7 separate regions of the Homo sapiens genome follow, and all the other regions are linked to region 6. The links are contacts of gene promoters, found by promoter capture Hi-C in blood cells and fetal thymus (Javierre and others, 2016). All regions are on one chromosome and are shown on one strand. Each heading gives the region's core, a stretch centred on a gene start or on the middle of the fragment in contact. The rest is flanking DNA. Distances are from core to core; before and after follow the strand shown. Region 1 overlaps MANBA (mannosidase beta). Region 2 overlaps MANBA (mannosidase beta). Region 3 overlaps MANBA (mannosidase beta). Region 4 overlaps MANBA (mannosidase beta). Region 5 overlaps MANBA (mannosidase beta). Region 6 holds the start of SLC9B1 (solute carrier family 9 member B1). Region 7 overlaps MANBA (mannosidase beta).

Region 1 (3,437 bases), core at 519-3,018, 370 kb before region 6:
TTAAATTTCAATATAGAAGAAATCAGTACAGTTATGTATCCTTTTATGTCTGGTTTCTTTTACTCAATGTAATACCTGCAAGACTCATCCAAGCTGATGCTGATTATCAGTAGTTTATTCTTTTTTTATTGCTGTGGAGTATTCCACTGTATGAATATACTACAATTTGTTTATAAATTCTCCTGTTAAAAGACATTTAGGTTGTTTCTACTTTGGGGCTATTGTGAATAATGCTGCTATGAACATTATTTGAGATATCCATTGGTGGACATATGAACTCATTTTTCCTAGTGCATAGCTAGGAGCAGAAATGCTGATTCAAAAGGGAAGCAAACATTTAGCTTAGGTAGAAACTGCCATAAAATTTTCCAAAGTGGTTAAACAAATTTAAACTCCTACTAACAATGTCTAAAATTTCCAGCTGTCTCGCTTCCTCACCAGCAGTTGTTATTATCAATCTTTTTAATTTTAGCCATTCTGCTGGGTGTGTAGGGGTATACTGGTATGGCTTTAATTTGCATGTTCTTGATTTACAACAAGATTGGGCACATTTTCAGATATTTATTGACGCTTTGGATATCTTCTTTAGTGAAGCTCCAGTTCAAGATTTTTGTCCATTTTTAAATAGATTGTCTGACTTTTTCTTATTGCTTTATTCTGGATACAAATCTTTTTATCAAATATATGAATTAAAACTATTGGTCCCCAATTTGTGGCTTGCCTTTTCTCTCTCTTAATGGTGTTTTTTATACTTAATGGTGTCCATAATTTCAATGGAGTATAATTTATCAATACTTTCTTTTCTAGTTAGTGCTTTTTATGTTCTATATAAAAACTCTCACCTATCCCAAAATCATGAAGCTATTCCATGTTTTCTCGAAGCTTTATTGTAGTACCTTTCACATTTGAGTCTTCAGTCATTGGTCAAATGAAGTTTCTAAAATTTATTATTATTTTTTAGAGATAGGGTTCTTGACATTTTGCCCAGGCTGGTCTCAAACTCCTAGGCTCAATCAATCCTCCCACCTCAGCCTCCCAAGTAGTTGGGACTACAGGTGTGTGCCACCATGCTCAACAATCAAATTAACTTGTATATGGAGTCAAGTTCATTTCTTTTCCCATAAAGGTATCCACGTGATTCACCACTGTTTATTGATAAAATGATTGTTCTCATACTCAATTGTGGTGGCATCACAGCCATAAATCAGGTGTCCATATTATACAGTGATCTGTTTCTGGACTCTATTGTGTTCCATTGTTCTATTTTATCCTTGGGAAATGGCACTGTCTTAATTACTAAACCTTTAGAGCAATCTTGAAGTAGAGAATATTTTCATACACAATTTATTTCAGAATTTTGTGAGCTGTTTTTGTAAGAGAGGCAAATGCCAAAAATGAACTATTTCATGTCCTATGTGTCATCATATATGTTCTTTGAAGAAAATAAATTCCTTAACCAGTGGAATGAAAACCTGAATATTTTTCACCATATATGGCCTACAAAATCTACATAATCTCTTACATTAATTGCAGGAACCTGTTCAATTCTAGAATGAAAACAACTTACCTGAGTAAGGTAGATGGTATCTTTAAATGTGCGTAATGGATCTGTGCTTTGGGGGAGTTTGAAATGAAGTCCAGCCTGATAAAGCATTTGTTTGTTACCACCTTCGTGATGTTGTCGATGAAGTGAAAACTTGCTATTGAAAGACCAGTCCTCTGTAGACGAGACCTTTCAAATAAAGAATAAGAATTAGAAATCTGAAAGTTGGCAGTAAAACTACTTTTCTATAAGTTCCTGACAAACCTGGAAAGTATCCTAAACACTAGAGAAGACCTTGAGGTTTGTTCTGTGGCTCCAGTTTCATAAATGTTTTACCATCCTACTTGTTGCCAGTGAAGGACTAGCCTTGTGGAAACTGGAATCACAAAACCAGGGTTTGGTACATATATCCTCCCTTCCTCCAACTAAGAAAGTTATATTTTGATGTTTCTCTTAAGACTCTTGTTTTATCAAAACATATTCCTGGTTTTTGAAACATCCACTATATGTATTTTTAAATATCATTTTATCTACTTAGGTAAACATTTTATCTAGTATTCGTTTGTCAAAACTTAATAGAATGCAATCAACACTGTTAAAACTGTCACAATTCTTAAATAGGAATAAAACACCTATTACACTATAATAGGGATACTATGAGAGTAGATGCTTTAGCACTTACACTGTTCACTTGTTTCTCAGTGATTACTAAATGAAACTGATATACATATGTTTAATTTTTATATAGTTGAAGACACAAACCAAATAATGTTACTTCTCTCCCCTAAAAAATCAATTTTTTATGGTTTAAGCCAGGCCCAAATTATAGGATCTTTATTTTATCCCCTAACTTACAGGATCTTTCTTTTGTCGTCAGCTCAAATTAAAAAACAAAGTAAAAAAAACTCACATATGTTGGAGTATACCTTCTACAAAAAAAGAGAAAAAAGCAATAATTCTGGCTTCTAGGCCTATAATTTAATGCACTGTTAGCATTTAAGAAAGAAGACAATTGCTGGCTACATCTGAAAATATCCAGAGTTTTAATTCAAGTTACACAGACTTTGAAAAAACATACTCTGCCCCTCCACCCAAAAACCTGAAAATTAAAAAAGCTTAATCCCTGTTCATAAAGTATGACTTTTCATTCCCAGTAATCAAGCAACACATGGGCCCATTACCTTAAAAGGAAAAGGTTATCCTTCAGGAACTGATTCATACCCAAATATAAGAAATGTACACTAGCCATATTAAATTTGGAAGTTTTTCCTAATTACAGATGTTTTTCCAAAATGCCACCACCAGAATTAAATAATGCTAACTACTCCTATTATGTATTTAAAGGAGAGATTCACATTGACAATCATCTCGCACACTTTTTAGACACACATCCTTTATCAATAGTCTTCCTACGCTTCCTCCTCTTAATTTATTTTATTTATGTTTATTATTTTTAATTGACACAATAAGTGTACACATTTATGGGGTACCATGTTATAATTTGATACATGTATACAATGTATAAGGATCAAATCAGGCTAATAAGCAAATTCATCACCTCAAACATTTATCATTTCTTTGTGTCGGGAACACTCAAAATTATCTCTTCTAGCTATTTGAAAATATACAATAAATTATTATTAACTATAGTTACCCCAAAGTGCTATAGAACACCAGAACTTATTCTTCCCATCTAGCTATACTTTTGTATCAATTAACCAACTCTATTGTCCCTCCCTGGCAACCCTTCCACCCTCTAGTAATCATTATTCCACTCTACTTCTTTGAGCTGAACTTTTTTAGCTTTCACATTGGAGTGTCCTTCCTCCTTTTCAAAGTCTGAAATATACCTTTGGGCCATGCAGCCTTCTTATTTGTAATAATTTGAATCTAT
Region 2 (3,158 bases), core at 320-2,819, 290 kb before region 6:
AGCTGCAGAGTATTCGGGGTAAGGGTCAGCTGCACTGCGGGGGCGGTTCCTGGGGCAGCTCGTCCCTAACAGTAACAACATTGATTCTACATCTTATAGATTTTTCTATGAGAAATAAGGCAAGACGTAATTTAGTGCGTCATTGATGTCTAGCTGCTCACTCCCAAAGCCTGACAAGTTGATGCCATTGCTGTCTGAGGCCGCCTCCAGCTCAGTAGTCAGCTCAGTGCTCGTGTGCTTCTTCCGGGCTTGTAATACCTTCATGAACGCTCCTTCTGGATTCCCTACAGATAGATGCTTCTTCAACTGTCAGGTAAGACACAATAAGTCTTTCTGAGTTTCTCTTATAGGGTTTAGCTTGTTAATTTCCTTATACTTTGTCCTCAAACTCAACTATCTTGTTCTTCCTTGCGCCTAGTTACCATAAACAGCCTACCCGCTTCCCGTCAGCTCTAATCAATAACTCACATCTGTTCCCTTGGTTACCTGCACCCCATGTTCCCCTGAAACTGCACATCTCACACGCTCCACCTCTGTCCCCCTCCCCTTCTATATTTAAAAAAATATGTACAAGTAGCCAATTGGGTCAGCTCAAACTGTGCAGTCCAACCCCAGCCCAAGGGGGAGTAGCACAGAGATAGGGACTGCGTTGAGGATAAAAACCCCCTGGTCTCCTTTGTTCTCTGTGCTCTTGCGATCTTGATTGACGCAAGTGGCACCCTTCTGCAGAAGTAAATTGCCTTGCTGAAAGAATTAAAAAAAAAAAAAAGATTGGCTTCCCCTTTTAAAACCAAACACAAAACCACCAGTATCAGCAGAGAATGAAAGACTGAATCTGTGGTGTGTAGCCAGCAGTCTCTCATTGCCCTGTGGTTCTCACTGTGCTGTTTGCGCCACTATCCCAGCCAGCCTCCAGGGGGAATACTTCTCTACTGCCCAAAAGTCAGCACAACTCCCTTCCGCTCATTGGATTCACTTAGCATTTCCAGTTATTTTTCACTTAGCTAAGTGAGCATGAAAAGGATCTCTACAGAGAATACACAGGCAGCAGAGATACTTCAAAACTTATTAACATCAGGTTTCTTATATTATCCTACCTCAGGTCAGCAAACTGCCACCCACAGGCCACATTCAGCTCACTACATGTCTCTGTGTGGCTAGCAAGCTAAGTAAGAATGGACATGTGCCCATAAATAAAGTTTTACTAGAGCACAGCCATGCCCTTTCCTTTGCAATTTACATATGGCTGCTTTGGTGCTATAGTGGCAGAGTTGAGTAGACATGATGGAGACCATCTGGCCCTCGAGGTCTAAAATATTTAGTATTTAGCTATTTACTGAACGTGTTTGCTAACCCCTGCCCAAGATGACTGGCCTCCTAGATGTTCATAGATGTTGCTCCATCTGAGTGTCTAGACCCAAGTCTGCCTCTTCATAAATCCTTAAGTCTTTCTTCTCCTACCCCCTTTCCACTCTTTTTACACTTTTTTTTTTTGAGATGGAGTTTCACTCTTGTTGCCCAGGCTGGAGTGTAATGGCGCAATCCCAGCTCACTGCAACTTCAGCCTCCCAGGTTCAAGCGATTCTCCTGCCTCAGCTTCCCAAGTAGCTGGGATTACAGGCATGCACCACCACACCTGGCTAATTTTTTGTGTGTTTTTAGTAGACATGGGTTTTCACCATGTTGGTCAGGCTGGTCTCGAACTCCTGACCTCAGGTGATCTGCCTGTCTCAGCCTCCCAAAGTGCTGGGATTACAGACATGAGCCACCGCATCTGGACTCTTTCCACTCTTTATCTCCCAGAGGAATACTCAAGACAGGAGGCAGAACAGAAAGTGGCAAACAAATCTTTTCAGTTCATCTATCCATGAACAATATATAGAAGGGAATTGTGCAGGCATGGAGGGGCTTCCCCTCCTTTGTCAGGGACAGATCCAAGTTATTTCCTTAGGGACCGTAACTCCAAGTCAAGAAGGAAAAGCCAACTCTGTCTAAGTTCCACACAGGTAAGAGCCAGATGAACACGTTAGGCTGGCAATGGCCAGTTAGGCAGTTGCCCAGGGCAAATCTGTAAGAAGCACTACAACATCAGTGGGAGTGTATCAAGATCAAGATAGGTATCTGCCAGAAACTGATCCAAACTGGAAGAAATATTTTGATAAGCTACTAGAGGAGAGAGTGACTGATGAGATTTAAAACAACACGTAATCACCAAACTGGCTTTTAAGGTCTGGTTAATGGTAAGGTTTTGTTCTGTTAAATGCCGTGTGCCAAGCCCAGCCAACTTATCTCCCACACAGGACTCGGCCTCTCCAATGAACAAACATGGAACACATATTTACAGACACAGGGTTGAAGAGGCACCTAATTATTAGCATGACCATGTCATTCCCCCAAGACCTATTTATAACTCTACACTGTGGACTTAGTCCAATACAGTTAAAAATATCATGAGAAGGAAGGTGTGAGAGCAATTCAGCCACAACACATCAACACACTAAGCCCGGGGGCTGGCTGATGATCTGGTTGACGGGGCACAAGTCCCCTTCCTTTCTCCCAGCTCCCTGAAGGAATCTGCAAGTTGGTTCAAGAGGGCAATCTTCCCAGATATATTTTTTCGACACAAACATAATTTATAGGTTAAAATTTTATCTTAAAGAGGCCAATCTGAAAAACCTAAATAATGTATGATTTCAACTATATGTCATTCTGGATGTTAAATAAAAATTACAGGAGGCCGTTGTTGACTGAGCTCCTATACTAGGCCTCAGCAGACCAGATCAAACCAAAACAGTCACTCATGCTAAGTACCACTTAATCAAACTGAAACTTTAACGAAGGAGGTAGATCCACAAACAGGGCAGTTTTTCCTGAAAACTTGAGATTCCTGTTCACCTGAGTAAGGAAGTCCTCTCTGCATTTTTTTTTTTTTTTTTTGAAACAGGTCTTGCTCTGCTCTGTCACCCAGGCTGGAGTGCAGTGGCACAACCATGGTTCACTACAGCCTCAACCTCCGGGGCTCAAGCAACCCTCCCAGCTCAGCCTCCTGAGGAGCTGGGGCTACAGATGTATGCCACCACTCCCAGCTAATTTTTTATTTTTATTTTTTTGTAGAGATGGAGATCTTACTATGTTGCCAAGGCTGGTCTCAAAATCCT
Region 3 (3,092 bases), core at 383-2,882, 320 kb before region 6:
TTTACATTTTGGCATGATTTTGTAGCAGCTGGTACCGGTTGTTCCTTTCCATGTTGAGTGCTTCCTTCAGGAGCTCTTTTAGGGCAGGCCTGGTGGTGACAAAATCTCTCAGCATTTGCTTGTCTGTAAAGGATTTTATTTCTCCTACACTTATGAAGCTTAGTTTGGCTGGATATGAAATTCTGGGTTGAAAATTCTTTTCTTTAAGAATGTTGAATATTGGCCCCCACTCTCTTCTGGCTTGTAGAGTTTCTGCTGAGAGATCCGCTGTTAGTCTGATGGGCTTCCCTTTGTGGGTAACCTGACCTTTCTCTCTGGCTGCCCTTAACATTTTTTCCTTCATTTCAACTTTGGTGAATCTGACAATTATGTGTCTTGGAGTTGCTCTTCTCGAGGAGTATCTTTGTGGCGTTCTCTGTATTTCCTGAATCTGAATGTTGGCCTGCCTTGCTAGATTGGCAAAGTTCTCCTGGATAATATCCTGCAGAGTGTTTTCCAACTTGGTTCCATTCTCCCCGTCACTTTCAGGTACACCAGTCAGACGTAGATTTGGTCTTTTCACATAGTCCCATATTTCTTGGAGGCTTTGTTCGTTTCTTTTTATTCTTTTTTCTCTAAACTTCCCTTCTCGCTTCATTTCATTCATTTCATCTTCCATCACTGATACCCTTTCTTCCAGTTGATCGCATCGGCTCCTGAGGCTTCTGCATTCTTCACGTAGTTCTCGAGCCTTGGTTTTCAGCTCCATCAGCTCCTTTAAGCACTTCTCTGTATTGGTTATTCTAGTTATACATTCGTCTAAATTCTTTTCAAAGTTTTTAACTTCTTTGCCTTTGGTTTGAATTTCCTCCTGTAGCTCGTAGTTTGATCGCCTGAAGCCTTCTTCTCTCAACTTGTCAAAGTCATTCTCCGTCCAGCTTTGTTCCATTACTGGTGAGGAGCTGCGTTCCTTTGGAGGAGGAGAGGTGCTCTGCTTTTTAGAGTTTCCAGTTTTTCTGCTCTGTTTTTTCCCAATCTTTGCGGTTTTATCTACTTTTGGTCTTTGATGATGGTGATGTACAGATGGGTTTTTGGTGTGGATGTCCTTTCTGTTTGTTAGTTTTCCTTCTAACAGACAGGACCCTCAGCTGCAGGTCTGTTGGAGTTTGCTAGAGGTCCACTCCAGACCCTGTAGAAACCACTATTTTTAAGGACTAAGAATACAGAAAAGAAACATAGATATATACATATATATAAGTAAATGAATTCACAAGAATTTCACGTTAATTTTTAAATGTTTAATAGCCTTCTTTCTGTCATACACAAGTTAGGGAACTATGGTTGGTCCTTTGATCTTCAGGAGTAAACTCACTAATTTTAAGTCAAGATATAAATTGAACACTTGAAAAAGCACAAAGATGACAGTATCTCTTTCTAGCCTCAACAGGGGGAAGGCAGAAAGTGTCCCATAGACAAATTAGTTTAGGCTTTCATATCAAGTTAGCTGAAGTTACTAGACTAAATTAGTTTGTTTTAATAACTACTTTATCCACTTACTGCATATACATATATATAACAGATGCCCAATATAGAAATTTAGAAAAGACAGTTACACAGAAGAATAAAATGCAAACCATTTTTAACACTACTACAGAGATAGCTACTGTTTGCATTAGTTGTTGTTTGTTTACTTGTTTGTTTGTTTTTGAGACAGGGTCTTGCTTTGTCACCCAGGCCAGAATACAGTGGAATAATCATAGCTCGCTGCAGCCTTGACCTCCCAGGCTCAAGTAATCCTCCTGAAACTGCCTTTGCAAAGTTATAACTGAGGAAATTATGACAATGAAAGAAATCAGACCTAATCTACTCCATCTTGCTTGTAACATTTAAGCTGTTCTTATTCATTCCTGGCAGTAGGCTGAACTAACTTTGGGAAGGAATTCAGTTCATGGTTTGACTCTGAAACAAAATGGATAGCAGCCCTTTCCCGAAAAGACCCCTTCTTGCCTGGGGACGAGTCTGCCTTTGCAGGACTAACAAATTAGCTACAAGATTAGAAATTACAGTTTAGGGGTCATGCAACCTCTGGCTCCAAGAGTCTGAACCTCCCCAAATTGCTCCTGGGGATAACATCACTATTGTAAAACCTAGATCAGTGCTTGAGATATTCTGCAGACCCTGCACTGGATGGATCAGCTGACACCACCCAGACTGGTAATCTGGCTCAACCAGTTCTGCCATCCCACTCAGGAAAGAAGACAGCAAGAAAACCTTACTTCGTTCCCCCTATGATTCCATCTCCAACCTGATCAATCAGCACTCCCCACTTTGCAAGCCCCTACCCACCAGATTATCTTTAAAAACTCTGATCCCACCCAGCATGGTGGCTCACGCCTGTAATCCCAGCACTCTGGGAGGCTGAGGCGGGTGGATCACAAGGTCAGGAGATCAAGACCATCCCCACTAACACAGTGAAACCCCATCTCTACCAAAAATACAAAAAATAAGCCAGGCGTGGTGTCGAACACCTGTAGTACCAGCTACTCGGGAGGCTAAGGCAGGAGAATCACTTGAACCTGGGAGGTGGAGGTTGCAGTGAGCCAAGATCGCGCCACTGCACTCCAGCCTGGGTAACAGAGCAAAACTCTATCTCGAAAAAAAAAAACCAAAAAATTTGATCCCAAATGCTGAACGTCTGGGGAGACTGATTTGAGTAATAATAAAACTCTGGTTTCTCACACAGCCAGCTCTGCCTGAATTACTCTTTCTCCGTTGCAATTCCCCTGTCTTGATAAATCAGCTCTGTCTAGGCAGCAGGCAAGGTGAATTTATTGGGCGGTTATAATCCCACCTCAGCCTCCGAATACTTGGGACTACAGGCATATACCACCACACATGGCTAATTTTTTTTATTTTTTGTAGAGACAATGTCTGCTCAGGCTGGTTCAAACTTCTGGCCTCAAGTGATCCTTTGAACTTGGTCTCCCAAAGCGCTAAAGATTACAAGCATGAGCCACCACGCCCAGCCTTGCATTAGTTTTGACCCACCTCATTTCACACTTAAATTTTAAAAATGAATACATTTTATTTTAAATAAAAATTATATGTACCTT
Region 4 (3,520 bases), core at 45-2,544, 330 kb before region 6:
ACAAAGCGATGATTCATGTCCTGGACAAGACAGGGCAGGACAGCACGAGATGCCATCATGCTACACAGAACAGTGAGCAATTTAAAACTCATGAATTGCTTATTTCTGGAGTTTTCCATTTACTATTTTCAGACCACAGTTGACCATGGGTAACTGAAACCACAGATAAGGAGGCACTACTGTACCTAAATGTCAAAAACATAATGCTGAGCCAAATTAGCCACACACTAAAAAATACATGCTATATGGTTCCATGTACATAAAATTCAAAAAGAGACAAAAGTAACCTAGTGATGGATGTCAGGATAGTGGATCTTCGGGAAGGAAACAGGGGTCATTACTGGGGAGGCTCGCAGAAGGGAGGGGAGAGTTTGAGGTGTGAAGTGCTAGTAATTAATGTTCTGTTTCTTGAACATGTTGACAGTTACCTGAGTGTTCATTTTCTCATAATTCATTAAGCTTTTCACTTATGGCTTGTGTATTTTTCTGTATGTGTCATATTTCACAATAAATAAAAAATAAAATGTTGTTTGACCAAAACTCCCTAGCTTTCTTTCTCAGGCTTACTTTTTCACCCTAAAACTCCACTGACAAAAGTGTTTGCCAGTCTTATAGAAAGAAAATATACTTTAAATGGTCCTAGAGACCTTCAAAATTACCTCCATCCTCAAGCTGCATCCTTTCCTCCCATGTGTTATCTTTCACCACTATTACAACGAAAACAGAGCCCCCCATCCCAAAGTGAATCCATCCTCTTCTTATCTCCTACCTCCCAGAGACCTTGCCCTCTCAACTACCTCCCTGCTTTCTAACTCTTTTTAGTCTTTCCCTCGCTACTGGCCCCTTTCCATCAGGATTTTGCTGTTGCTTTCCATTCTCTTAATGGTATCCTTTTCTATGTTGAAATCATTGCAAACTTGTAATAAAGTTCCAACAATAATACAAAGAACTCCTATATATAATACAAAGAATCCAGAGACCCCCCCATTCAAGTTTTCATCAGTTGCCCCAATAACATTATGACAAAAAAGATCACTGCACTGCACCCAGTTCGTACATAGTCTCTTCCACTGTAGGACAGTTCCTCAATCTTTCCTTGACATTTTTGAAGATTATAGTAGATTGAAGACTGAAGACTGAAGACTGAAGGCCCTTGTGTCCTTTCAATGTGTCACATTATTATTGAGTACCTCCTTACTTCCTGGAACAGCAAGATATTTCAGGCTCCAGCTCGAGAATCAGTCATTTCTCCAAAGAGCCCTGATTGCTTTCAGCACAGAGTGGTATTCCAAATCAACATATGGGTCCTAAATCTACTCACTGCTACTAGAGAGCCACTCTTCCCAGGCGCTCTGAGAAAGGATTAGGAAATGTGTGAAAAGAACTAGGAAATGTGTGTGTGTGTGTGTGTGTCTACCCACACATACACATGCATTTACAAAGACATTTATTTCTCTGTCTACACATACTGAAAATCATAACTTCATACTATTAGCTCCAATTTGAATCCACTGTAGCTTTCCCCCCTTCTATGTTGATACCACCTTTCTCCATTCATGAAAAGGCTGGCTTCCACCACTTCAATATATTTACTTATTTGTTCAGTTGCCTATGTGAAGCCAATCTGATCCCAACTGGCCACCATTACCACCTGGTCTAAGCATAGTTTCCAATCAGACGCTTTCAGAAGAGTTGCCTATATTCACCGTCTTTACTTCCATACCTTGAGTCATTCCTCAACCCACTACAATTTGATTTCCATGCTGATCAAGGTGACCAGTAATCTCCTTGCCACCAAATCTAAAGAATCTTTCTCAATTCTTTTCTAACTTGAACTCCCTTGCAGCATTCAACACTCTGAACATTCTTTGCTTCTTAAAACACTCTTTCCCTCTGGTTTCTGTGACTCCCCACTCAAATTGGTTTTCCCTCCACCTCGTCAACCATTCCTTCTTAGATTCTTCTACTGGCTTCTCCCCAAACCCCAACCTTACTAATTATGACTGCCTGGGGTTCTGTCCTAGCTCTTTTCTCTGTGCCATCCCTGAGGTATTTCATCCGCTACCATGGCTACAATTATCTACATTCTGCTAACTTACACATCTATATCCTTAACCCACATGCAATCCCTAAGCTTAAGATCTATCTAATGAAACACCTATCAAATATTATTCCTTGGGTGTCTCTCAATCACCCCACACAAAACACATCTAACACTGAAATAATTTCCACCCAACCCCTTCCCCCAAACCTTCTCTTCTTTCTGAGTAATGTAACTCAATGAACAGAGTTGCCCTGCCTGTTCAGAGGCTGCCTGTTCAGCAGCCCAAACCAGCAGCTGAGGAACCATTCCTAACTCCTTCTTTTTTCCCACCCCCACATCATCAAGCCTGCTGAGGTTATATCCTAAATCTCTTTCAGATTTATTTCCTCAGCAGTTCTGTAGACCAACCAATCCTCATTTTTTGTCTGAATCACCACCACAGTCTTCTAACTGGTCCCCTACTCTTGCCATCCTTCCAATCTGATCTACACAATCTTTGTAAAATATGCATATAATCCTTACCCCCTCCTTAAAATCCTTCCAAGAATCCTGGCAGCACTCAGGACAGTGCTTCTTCCTTCACGTGGCTCACTAGGCCCTGCAGGACTTTGTCCTAGCTACTTTTACAACACCATCTCTTGTTCTTCAACTTCAAACTCAACCACAACTGCATTGAAATTTCTTTCACTTCTGCAAACACACAACATCCTTTCTAGTCCTTGGGCCTTCACGTTCTTTTCCCTCCGCCTCTTTGCTACATTACTTGGCCAAATTCTACTTATCCCTCAGGACACAGGCTCTGGGAATCTTCCCAGAATGCCCCTGCTCTGCACTTCCATGGCACTCTCTACATCTCTAGAGTGCTAATATATTCCAATGGCTCATTTAATGATTGAACTTCCCAATCAGATCATTAGTTCTACTAAGGTCTCAGAGAGAAACAGAAACAGTGTCTTAGTCACAGCTCTATCACCAGCACCTAGCAAAATAGCCAAAACACAGTAGGTGTGCCCTAAGTATTTACTGAATGAATCAGCCTCAAAAAATAGCAACTCTACGGCAGCCACAGCCAAAGAGCACATTTCACACACATGCATTAACTCAAGGTGTGGGGCAGTTAAACATCCTCCTTAAAGCAAACTCCTGTTGCTGCTCGATTCAAAGGCTGGCATCTTTATGTGTAATGAACAATAATACAGTCATATTAGCCTGAATGTAAAAGAATTATTTCCCTTAGAAAAAGACAGAAGTTCCTCTTCTTTCTCTGTAGTAAGTTGGAATGACTCATTATTTTTTACATTTTCATGAAAACAACACACAACAAACTCACTGTGTGAGACAGCACACATCCTCTCAGCCAAGAGGGGTACGACAAGAGTGAATGCTTTGGCCCTTAAGACGGGTCCAGGATGTTCTCCCTGTACATAACTCTGTGCATGTGTGCGTGCGCGCGCACACACACACACACACACACAA
Region 5 (3,348 bases), core at 631-3,130, 270 kb before region 6:
AATTCCAAGAGACGGAGAATACAGAAAGAAGTGATATATGAATTAACCCTGAGAAAATGTTTACATTTTTTGAGAGCTTTTAGCAAATGGGGTGCTTTTAGTGGCATATTTTGAACAAAAGTATATTGTACTCATGTCTCTATTTTCATCAGACACATTTAAATTAAAATAACTGTTCCATTTGTTTACTATTTACTGTTTCTGCCAATAGGCAGCGTGCAATGGTGAAAAGAACATCGGGGTTTGAATCCTTGCTCCACCATCCATTATATGCATCATCTTAGGCAATAACTTTGCTGAGCCTCAGTCACTGTGAATTATTATACCTTTTCCAGAGGGTTGTTGCTGAAATTATATGAACAAGTGCACATGAAAGGGCCAAGAAAAGTGCATCACACGTGGAAGACATAAAATAAATGTTACATGAAAATGAATTGTATAGGCTGACTACATGCATTAATACTTATACATGATAAGGACCAGCCAACGCTTACCTAAAAATTTAGCTCTCAGGTGGTCCTTTGATTTTCAGTTCGGGGCCACGCAAAGCAAATCCTCCCATACCCTAAATACACCTCATGTGGCATCAAACAAGAAAGTATATGTCCAGGTTTAAGGATCAGGATTTTTTAAACTATCTGTTTTTTTTAAATGAGGGCTTAAAAACCTTGGACTTCTCTCTTCCCAGAAATTGAGCAACATTATTAATTGATGACTATTTCTGTTTAAATTAAATTTCAAATGCAGAGTCATTAGCTATTTTATCTCCTTAATGTCACACCTGATAGAAGCAGTCAAACTTTTTTTTTTAATTTTACTTTAAGTCAGTCAAACTTTTAGAAGAAGACATACATATCTTTAAAGGGTCATTTCCTAAAAAGCTTTTGAGATCATTTCACATCATAAAATGATCACGTAAAGCCAAATATTTCCTTAGTTTTTTTTTTATTTAAAAAACATTTTTTATCATTCTCAGTATTCAAACAAATATTTCATCCTTACAAGTCTTAAGATCTCTGTGGAAGGTTAGTATAACAACCAGAAAACCTTCTGTTTTGAGAAAAAATGTATGTTTAGTCATTTTGGATTATAATAATGGGACTCTCTTCTCTGAAACACATCAAAAATATTTCACAAGTCATAATGGTTCTGTGGTTATGTTGAAGAAAAAGGAACTCCCTATCTTTTAAAGACCCATACTGAAATGTTTGTGGATGAAATAATGTGATAACTGGGATTACTTTATAATACTAAGGGCGCCAGGAGCAGCGGTTCACACCTGTAATCCCTACACTTTGGGAGGCCGAGGTGGGAATATCGCTTGAGCCTGGGAGTTTGAGACCAGCCTGTGCAACATAGGGAGACTCTGTCTCTACAAAAAAGAAACAAATTAGCTGGGTATGGTGGTGTGTACCTGTAGTCCTAGCTACTTGGGAGGCTGAGGTGGGAGGATAGCTTGAGTCCAGGAGGTTAAGCCTGCAGTGAGCCATGACCACGCCACTGCACTTCAGCCTGGGTGACAGAGTAATACCCTATCTCAAAAAACAAAAAAAATGATAACAAAACAAAATAATAAGGGATGGCATAGTGGATAGAGAAGAAACAAAATTAGCCACGAATTGATCATGTTGAAGCCAGGTGATGGATACATGAAATTTCATTTTGCAAGTATCTCTATTTTACTATTTGTTTGAAATTCACCCAAAGTTTAACAAAATTCACATAGAAACTGCTTATTTGCTACTTAAAGAATACAAAAGTAGAATGTACACTGATGCACATATATTGTTAGAATGTACTTATGAGTGATAACCTGCAGATTGGAGACTCCATAGACAGACTCATGGCTCCTTAGAAAGAATGATTGTGGGTGGAGCAGACCCAAGGAGGAAAAGCAGAGTCCAGGCTTAGACTGCAGCTTCTCGCTTACCTGTGCAGTCTAATTTTGAGCGGCCTCTTTGTAGTTAAGAGACAGGAGCTCCCATTCTCTCTCTACTAACCCAAAAGTCTTGTGTGTACTCCTTGCCTTGGCTCAGCTCCAAACACATTTCTACACCGATAACAAGAAATATGCTGTAAATGATGTTTCCTTCTCAATCCCTGCCGCCTCTGAATTTGCTGACCTTAGTAACATCATCAATAAATTACTAAAGGACAAAAATGAGTTCCACAAACATATGGAGTTTTATTTCCTTATTAAGGGCCAGTTTCTGCGAATGTCCTTGGTCAAACACATGGAACTGGAGAACATGTCATCAGAAGTAGTTGTGGAAATAGAATATGTGAAGTACACAGCACCCCAGCCAGAGCAATGCATGTTCCATGATGACTGGATCCTTTCAGTTAAAGGGGCAAAGGAATGGATCTTGACTGGTTCTTATGATAAGACCTCTCAAATCCGGTCCTTGGAAAGAAAGTCAATAATGACAATTGTTGGACATAGGGATGTCTTAAAAGATGTGGCCTGGGCCAAAAAAAAAGATAGTTTGTCTTGCTTATTTGTGAGTGCCTCTATGGATCCAACTATTCTCTTATGGGAGTGGAATAGAGAGAAACAAAGTGAAAGCCCGACCGTGCTGCAGAGGTCATGCTGGAAGTGCAGAGTCTATAGCTGTTGATAGCTCAGGAACTAAATTTTGTAGTGGCTCCTGGGATAAGATGCTAAAGATCTGGTCTACAGTCCCTACAGAAGAAGAAGATGAAATGGAGGAATCCACAAATCGACAGAGAACACAGAGCAGCTATGACTCCCATAGTGACCCTCTCTGGTCACAAGGAAGCAATTTCCTCAGTTCTGTGGTCAGATGCTGAAGAAATCTGCAGTGCATCTTGGGACCATACAATTAGAGTGTAGGATGTTGAGTCTGACAGTCTGAAGGCAAGCTTTGACAGGAAATAAAGTGCTTAATTGTATTTCCCATTCTCCAACTTTGTAAACGTTTAGCATCTGGAAGCACAGATAGGCATACCAGACTGTGGGATCCCCGAACTAAAGACCATTCTTTGGTGTCACTGTCCCTAACTTCAAATACAGGTTGCGTGACATTAGTAAAATGGTCTCCTACCCATGAACAGCAACTGATTTCAGGATCTTTAGATAACATTGTCAAGTTGTGGGATACAAGAAGTTGTATGATCTGGCTGCTCATGAAGACAAAGTTCTGAGTGTAGACTGGATAGGGACACAGGGCTACTTTTCAGTGGACAAGCAGACAATAAATTGTATTCCTACAGATATTCACCTACCACTTTCCATGTGGGGGCATGAAAGTGAATGATAAATTGATCATAGAGATTCTTTATACAAATGAACTTGGTAGAAAATCATGAAATTATACTGATGCAGAT
Region 6 (3,256 bases), core at 438-2,937:
AAGCTCATCCATTCATTCCCTCAAAAAATATTTATTGAACATATATTACACTATGTTCCAGGTACTATTCAATCTCAGTGTTTAGTAAACACCACAGTAACATGGGATTTGGTTAACCAACAGAAGTGTTTAAACAGGATGAGTACAAAAATAAGTACAAAATGAGAAGTACTATAAAAACGATACTTTATATGTTACAACTATAGCACCCACCTATTTCCTTGTGTCTAGTAATTGGCAGGACCTTATGACAAGAGCCAACTGAAAAACAGCAGTATAAATTCTGGTACTCTAAAAGCCCAGACTTCACCACTGTGCAATATATCCACACAACAAAACTGAACTTGTACTAACTAAATCTGTATAGAATTTTAAAAAGTAAGTTAAAAAAAATTCTGGTACTCACAGGGGACAATACCTATGAATGCCCTTTTCATAGGCACACAGTGACTAAAATATTTGGGGCATGAATTCTCTAGGGGTGACAATAATAAGTGTCATTTTTCATGCTTCTGTTGCACACATAATTATATTTATCTCTAAGGAAAATCAGAGAGTGGGGTGTGGCCTCCCTCAGTGCCACCTGGGCCAGTTGTCTCCCCACATCACCAAATCTGTTATTTCACAGGCTCTAGGACACCCATAGAGGGGGAGTGAGGGACCTGGTATGGTCCCGTGAAGAGCTCTTGTAACACTACTGATTGATGTGACAGACACAGTATGTGTGCAACTTTCCTTTTTCCTTCAAAAGCACTGGTCTAAAGCAGGGATCCCCAACCCCTGGGCAGCAGACAGGTACAGGTTTGTGGCCTATTAGGAACAGGCCACACAGCAGGTGAGCAGGGCTAGAGGATTATGCCTGAGCTCCAGCTCCTGTCAGATGAGCAAAGGCATTAGATTCTCATAGGAGCACAGACCTGATTATGAACTGCGCATGTGAGGGATCTAAATTGCGCCTTCTCAAGAGAATCTAATGCCTGATGATCTGAGATAGAAGAGTGTCATCCCATCTTGCCCCCCACCCCAAACTGTCTTCCATGAAACTGATCCCTGGTGCCAAAAAGGTTGGGGACTGCTGGAAGTGCTTGTCCCCTGGGTTAAAGCCAAGAGGAGTAAACAGGATTAAGGGGCGTGGATGTGGGTGGGTGGGGGAAGAGAGCTTTCTCAGGATCGGCAACCAATCCCAGAATCTCCAGTCGCAGGAGCATGTATGTGAAGGTTTATTTGCAGGGATCCACCGTTTGTAAAATAGTACACGCTTAATAAAATTAATTTTGAGGTCAATCTTAACTGACAGATCTCTTCTTTCTTACTGGCGAGTATTTGTAAAATAAGAAAAACAGGAGGAAAAGAGAACAAACAAGAGAGATGTGGGATGACGGAGTAAGGAAAGGAGTCACGGAGAGGAGAGACAATGTCTGTGGCTGTTCCCTCAGCGTCTGGGAGAAGAGCCCAAGAATCCCATTGAACTGAGGGGGAGGAAAGGCCCTCCTGCGGCCTACCGCAAGGAAACGATCGCGGCAGACCCGGGACTAGCGCCAAAGGGCTTGGAAGGGCGGCGTTAAGAAAAATGGGCCGTACCTACAACTTCTTTCGCAGCCCTCGCTGGCCCGGGAGCGGCCCAGGAGCCCAGTGACCGTTGCGTAAGCCACGCGCCACCCAGGTGGGCAGGGTGGTGACGCGAAAGCCCGGATAGACTTCCGCGCAGGGGCGGGGCGGGGCGAGGAGGCGGCAGCGCGTTTAAGTGACGTCTTGGCTGTCCGCGCCGGCAGAGGCGAGGGTTCTGGGGTTTCTGGGACTGTCTGGTGTGTTTTCTGTCTATTGAACCCTTTCCTTTCGACGTCTCTTCTGAATATTGACTCATCGGGTTGTAGAAATCCAGGGACAGAGTTGACATCACTGGGCATTTTAGCCAAAAAGCAGTGCTCGGGACTGCATGTGCCAGAAGTAAACTTGTCAAAACTCAGATTGTGTTTCCCCTAAAGTCAGCTTAAAGTGCAATGGTAGAAGAGCACGGTCTCTCCCCAAGACGGCCTGAGCTTAAACTGCAGCGCTGTCACTTGCTAGCTATGGGACCTAGGCAAATACATCGTCTCCCTGAGGTTGTCTTCTCATCTGTAAAGGACGCTGTGGTGGTGGTGTGAGAATAAATGAGACATGGCAAGTGTCTGGAACAAAGACGCTGTGTACAAAGTAAACACTTAATATACTGTTATCAGTATAAAACCTTTGTGAGTTTTTTTTTTTTTTCCGCATGAAATCTTATGTGGAAAGTTGTATGTGAAAGAAATGAAAGCGGAGCTGCGTTGATGGTGGGCCCAGAAGCTTTGGCCTTTCAGTCCCAAAGTTTCCAGTAATAGAATCCGCGCTTCCTATAAAAGACAAAAACAACTGTTATTGGAGAAAGTGTAAACTTCTTAGAAAGACAAACTGCCCTTTCCTATCTAATGTTTCTCCTGACACTCAATGTTTACTCTTGAACACTGTATTCCTTTTTGCCTCAGTGCGTTCTGTAAAGTTAATTCCTCTACCGGAGTGTTCTTTTTCTTAGTCATCATCTAAGATCTGATCCAAATTACCGTTCCTTCTTGGGTAACTTAAATACGAAATTATCTTTTTATTGGTTTTGTTGACGTTGTTGAGACAGGGTCTCACTCTATTACCCCGGCTGGAGTGCAGTGCGATCTAGGCTCCCTGCAGCCTCCTCCTCCTTGGTTCAAGCGATCCTCCTGCCTCCTGAGTAGCTGGGACTACAGGTGGGCACCACTACCCCCGGCTAATTTTTGTATTTTTAGTAGAGAGGAGTTTCACATATTGCCCAGGAGGACTTGAACTCCTGGACTTAAGTGATCTGCCCGTCTTGGCTTCCCACAGTACTGGGATTACAAGCGTGAGCCACCACAGCCCTGCCCTTTTTATTGTTTTTAACACCTTCCCTCCTTCAACGTGTTATAGACATCTCAGCAAGGATTTATTTTTCTTCCTCGTTTCAGGAGAGTAGACAGGGTTTCATGATTATAGGGTTAAGGAAATGTTTTGTACTCATGAAAAGGAAATGTTTTGTACTCACAGGAAAAGCAGGTAGATCCCTAAAGATAATGGGAGTTGGGACAAATGGTAAACCTGGGAAGGAAGACCTTTGCTAGGAGTCTGTTTGCCTCCAAGGCACTACTCTTATGCTCTAGAAGGAATGGGCTCCTGGAGAGGTAAGTGCTTTAGGGTCCATGTAAGGAAGATGGAGCGCACATCAACAAAT
Region 7 (3,138 bases), core at 523-3,022, 350 kb before region 6:
CCTGAGAAATCAACTAACATTAAGTTACTGAATGTACCTAAATATAAAAGGGAAAATTAGAGAATCTACCTGAAAACCGTGCCACACGAGGCCTGCATAAACTGAGCTCATCTGGGCTGGCCCTACATAAAGACAAAAGGATCCACTTGTGTTATGTTTGCACTGGACAGATTCAGACATGTCCCTTCTTCTAATACACTAGGACATGTGCCCCAGTAGAGAGCAATTAAATTCCTCTGAGAATGGCAGAGTGAGTCAATGGTCAAGAAAAATTCTTTTGGAACATGTTTTGGCAATGTTACCTCATTGATATTTATAGGTTCACCTTCGCTGTGATGCATGATTACACTGATTGCCCCCCACTGATGCTCTCAATGTGTTCTCCATTCAAGAAGCTCAGAAACTCACATAGATGAAATAGAGATGCACTGAAGGTATATTAAAGAGATATATTTCATTTTTAAAAAAATTAAGTCTTGTGTTTTTCTCAGCCAGCCATATAAACACTATTTCCTTTTTTTGTCTTTGTACATGCCCAAGAAAGGGACAGCTGCTACCAACTGTGACTGACATATTTATGCCACTGATGAAAATACAAATATAAATCCTGAAGTGGCAAAAAGCTTCAGTAGCACCGTGTTACACACAACCCTCAAGCTGACTTAGAGTTTTATGGTAAGCTTTACTTTAAAATTTTAACAAACTTTGCATGCAATGGCTCTCCTTATCTTTAATAATGCATCAAAGAACTGAAGATACATAAATGTTAGATTTTAATTATTTATACGAAAGAAAACTAAAAATAAAACTGAAATGCTTGCAACCTGTGTAACTACAATTAATATGTTTACAGTTATTCATTCATCCATTCATCTATCCACTTTGTGAATAATCCACAGAGTGGGGACGCAGAGGGGAATGAGTCCTAGGCCTCAGGGAGATGACAATCTTGCAGAGGTGACAAATCCTTGAACAAGTAATTCAAAGTGTGATGTGTGTCTCAAAAGGCAAAAGATTTTTCCCATGCTTAAGGTAAGAGGGGCCAAAGGAGAACAAAGGAGGTGGCTCACAAGGGCAGTGGATGGGGAAGATGTTCCAGGACATAGACAGCAAGATGGAGATGGTGCCTGAACAGGTGCAGACACCAGCTGGCCGGAGTCCCGCATTAAGAGGATCTTACACCTTACCCAGAGGTCAAGAAGCCACCTCAGGGGAAGTGTTGGCTAGGGAAGGAGTTCGATTGTACTTTTTAAACCTTTTATTTTAAAATGAAACACAGTTACAGAAAACAAATTATGACACGGTCAATTATCATAAGGCAATCACCCTTGTAGCCACCACCCAGTGCAGCCAGGCCGGAAGCCATCCACGTGCCTCTTCCTAATCACAGCCCCTTCCTCCTTCCAAAAGTAACCACTATCTAGAGTATCATAGTGTAATAGAAATCGCTTCCTTGCATTTCTGTATGGTTTTTCACAAAATATACATCTGCAGACACTATAATATGAACTCTAGATTTTAACACACTTGATGGATTCAATTCATTGACATCCTTATCTTTATTGAATCTCAAATTGTCCCCCTTTTGGTTGTTCAGAGTCTCTCAAAATCCTTTTGACATAACTTTGATAGCTTCCTTGTTATCTGCATGTTGAGATATTCCAGGATCAGGGTTCTGAGCAGGAATGTGGTATGACTTAAAATGTGTCAGTGGAAGATGACTTTGGCAGCTCTGTTGAGTATGCACATATTGAAAGAGACCAATGCTAGGGAGTCCAATCAGAAAACAAATGCAATGATTGAGGAGAGGGAAAAATAGGATTTGAATTAGAGTAGTAAGCACGGGGGTGAGAAAGTAAATACAAATACTAGTAACATTGATATCAAAAAATTGTCTCAACTTAAAACCAGATGGATGTGGGAGGTGAGAAAGAAGAAAGTATCAATGACTTTCATATTTCCTGCTAAAAAGAAAAATCTTGAAAGAGTGCACTGGGGAAAAGATAATAGATGTACTTTGAAGACACGCTGAGTTAGTGTGACAGCTGCTATTATTTGTTATTTCTTTTGAACTGCATGACTTACACGTATTATCCTATTTAATTTTTGAAACAGTTTCATGAGGAGTGACATCATACTAGAGTTATAGATACAGAAATTGAGGCTCAAGAGGTAAAGTGACCTCCCTAAGGTTGCAGACTCACCATTCAAGAAGAAATATCAAAATATTTGTTCTTTGTATATCAACATTACAAAAAATCTGGCAGACAGTTGGACATGAGAAATTGAAATCAGAGTCAATAATTATCCACATTGTAGCTTTACCTGAGGTTACCGAGAAAATGGATTTGTTTCCTTCTTTAACATGTTGCAGAGCACTATAAAAACTCAATATGTCTCCACAGTCTTGCAAACTCTTTACAAGGTAGGGGTGATCTCCTGGTGCAGTGATCATTTCCAATGGATGCTAATGAATCAGTCCGATGTTTCAGTAGTATTTTACTAGCATATGATACACTCACAAGTTGGTTTCTAAACTGTATTTTGGGAGTACATCATAATTCAGAATTTTCATGTATTGACAAGCATCCCACTCTGATTCTACATGGAAACCCATGCCATGCACTTAATATTTAGGGGAGAGGAAATATAATGCAATCTGTGTTTCAAAGCATGATCATCCCCTAAACAGACCTTGCTGCAAAAATAAGTATATTCAGCACACAGCTCATAAACCTCAGATCTGTGGCTAAAATTATCAGTTGATAATATTATATTAACACCATTGCCATTTGTGAAAAGAAGATATCCAGGATCATTTTATATATTTCCTGTGCCAGACCTGGAGTCGGCCATTTCTCTAAGAAGCTTTTCTCTTAACAGGAAAGATTACTTCAATATAAGAATACTCAACACTACAACGTTGGGCATTATTTCTAGATCTTTTCAGTAGGCAGAGAAAGCATATAATCACTTCCTTGCATTTATATATCTGTGAATATAAATATAAATGTCAATATGTGGAATCTAAAATAAATCAAGGAATCAATAATCAATTTAAACTTTCTCCTGAGCAATTCAAACAGTGGTGTTGCTGTTTGCTGAGATGGAGAAAACTTCAGAAGAAGCAAGATTGGG

The links. The method cuts DNA at HindIII sites, captures the fragments that hold promoters and counts their contacts. A CHiCAGO score of 5 or more calls a contact.
Region 1: a contact is called between a fragment that was not itself captured here and the fragment with the promoter of SLC9B1 in region 6, in 17 of 17 cell types (M2 macrophages, M1 macrophages, M0 macrophages and 14 more). The highest score is 14.3, in M2 macrophages.
Region 2: a fragment that was not itself captured here is called in contact with the fragment with the promoter of SLC9B1 in region 6 in 8 of 17 cell types (naive B cells, M2 macrophages, total B cells and 5 more); the score reaches 9.3 in naive B cells.
Region 3: a contact is called between a fragment that was not itself captured here and the fragment with the promoter of SLC9B1 in region 6, in 10 of 17 cell types (M2 macrophages, M1 macrophages, monocytes and 7 more). The highest score is 10.8, in M2 macrophages.
Region 4: a contact is called between a fragment that was not itself captured here and the fragment with the promoter of SLC9B1 in region 6, in 15 of 17 cell types (M1 macrophages, M2 macrophages, M0 macrophages and 12 more). The highest score is 19.3, in M1 macrophages.
Region 5: a contact is called between a fragment that was not itself captured here and the fragment with the promoter of SLC9B1 in region 6, in 14 of 17 cell types (M2 macrophages, total B cells, naive B cells and 11 more). The highest score is 11.2, in M2 macrophages.
Region 7: a contact is called between a fragment that was not itself captured here and the fragment with the promoter of SLC9B1 in region 6, in 16 of 17 cell types (M2 macrophages, M1 macrophages, neutrophils and 13 more). The highest score is 27.7, in M2 macrophages.

Annotation. Positions count from the first base shown.
Region 1 is chr4:102,648,970-102,652,406 of GRCh38, forward strand. It overlaps MANBA (mannosidase beta), which reads right to left. Exons shown (of 17, transcript NM_005908.4): 13 at 1,568-1,732. Among named protein-coding and RNA genes, the nearest start is that of MANBA, 110 kb to the right of the region's middle. The HindIII fragment of the contact is 1,776 bases long and covers 881-2,656 here.
Region 2 is chr4:102,730,431-102,733,588 of GRCh38, forward strand. The region is part of intron 1 of MANBA (mannosidase beta); the gene reads right to left. It also overlaps the pseudogene LRRC37A15P. Among named protein-coding and RNA genes, the nearest start is that of MANBA, 29 kb to the right of the region's middle. RefSeq lists an enhancer at 1-46. The HindIII fragment of the contact is 8,823 bases long and covers 1-3,158 here.
Region 3 is chr4:102,701,463-102,704,554 of GRCh38, forward strand. The region is part of intron 5 of MANBA (mannosidase beta); the gene reads right to left. Among named protein-coding and RNA genes, the nearest start is that of MANBA, 58 kb to the right of the region's middle. The HindIII fragment of the contact is 2,952 bases long and covers 157-3,092 here.
Region 4 is chr4:102,684,799-102,688,318 of GRCh38, forward strand. The region is part of intron 7 of MANBA (mannosidase beta); the gene reads right to left. Among named protein-coding and RNA genes, the nearest start is that of MANBA, 74 kb to the right of the region's middle. RefSeq lists an enhancer at 2,912-2,961. The HindIII fragment of the contact is 1,675 bases long and covers 458-2,132 here.
Region 5 is chr4:102,749,374-102,752,721 of GRCh38, forward strand. All of the region lies in intron 1 of MANBA (mannosidase beta), which reads right to left. It also overlaps the pseudogene WDR12P1. Among named protein-coding and RNA genes, the nearest start is that of MANBA, 9.9 kb to the right of the region's middle. The HindIII fragment of the contact is 2,002 bases long and covers 880-2,881 here.
Region 6 is chr4:103,018,018-103,021,273 of GRCh38, forward strand. SLC9B1 (solute carrier family 9 member B1) reads right to left here and starts at 1,688. Exons shown (of 12, transcript NM_139173.4): 1 at 1,582-1,688. It also overlaps a transcript of SLC9B2 not described here. RefSeq lists an enhancer at 1,529-2,029. The HindIII fragment of the contact is 6,332 bases long and covers 1-2,323 here.
Region 7 is chr4:102,665,495-102,668,632 of GRCh38, forward strand. All of the region lies in intron 10 of MANBA (mannosidase beta), which reads right to left. Among named protein-coding and RNA genes, the nearest start is that of MANBA, 94 kb to the right of the region's middle. The HindIII fragment of the contact is 2,188 bases long and covers 679-2,866 here.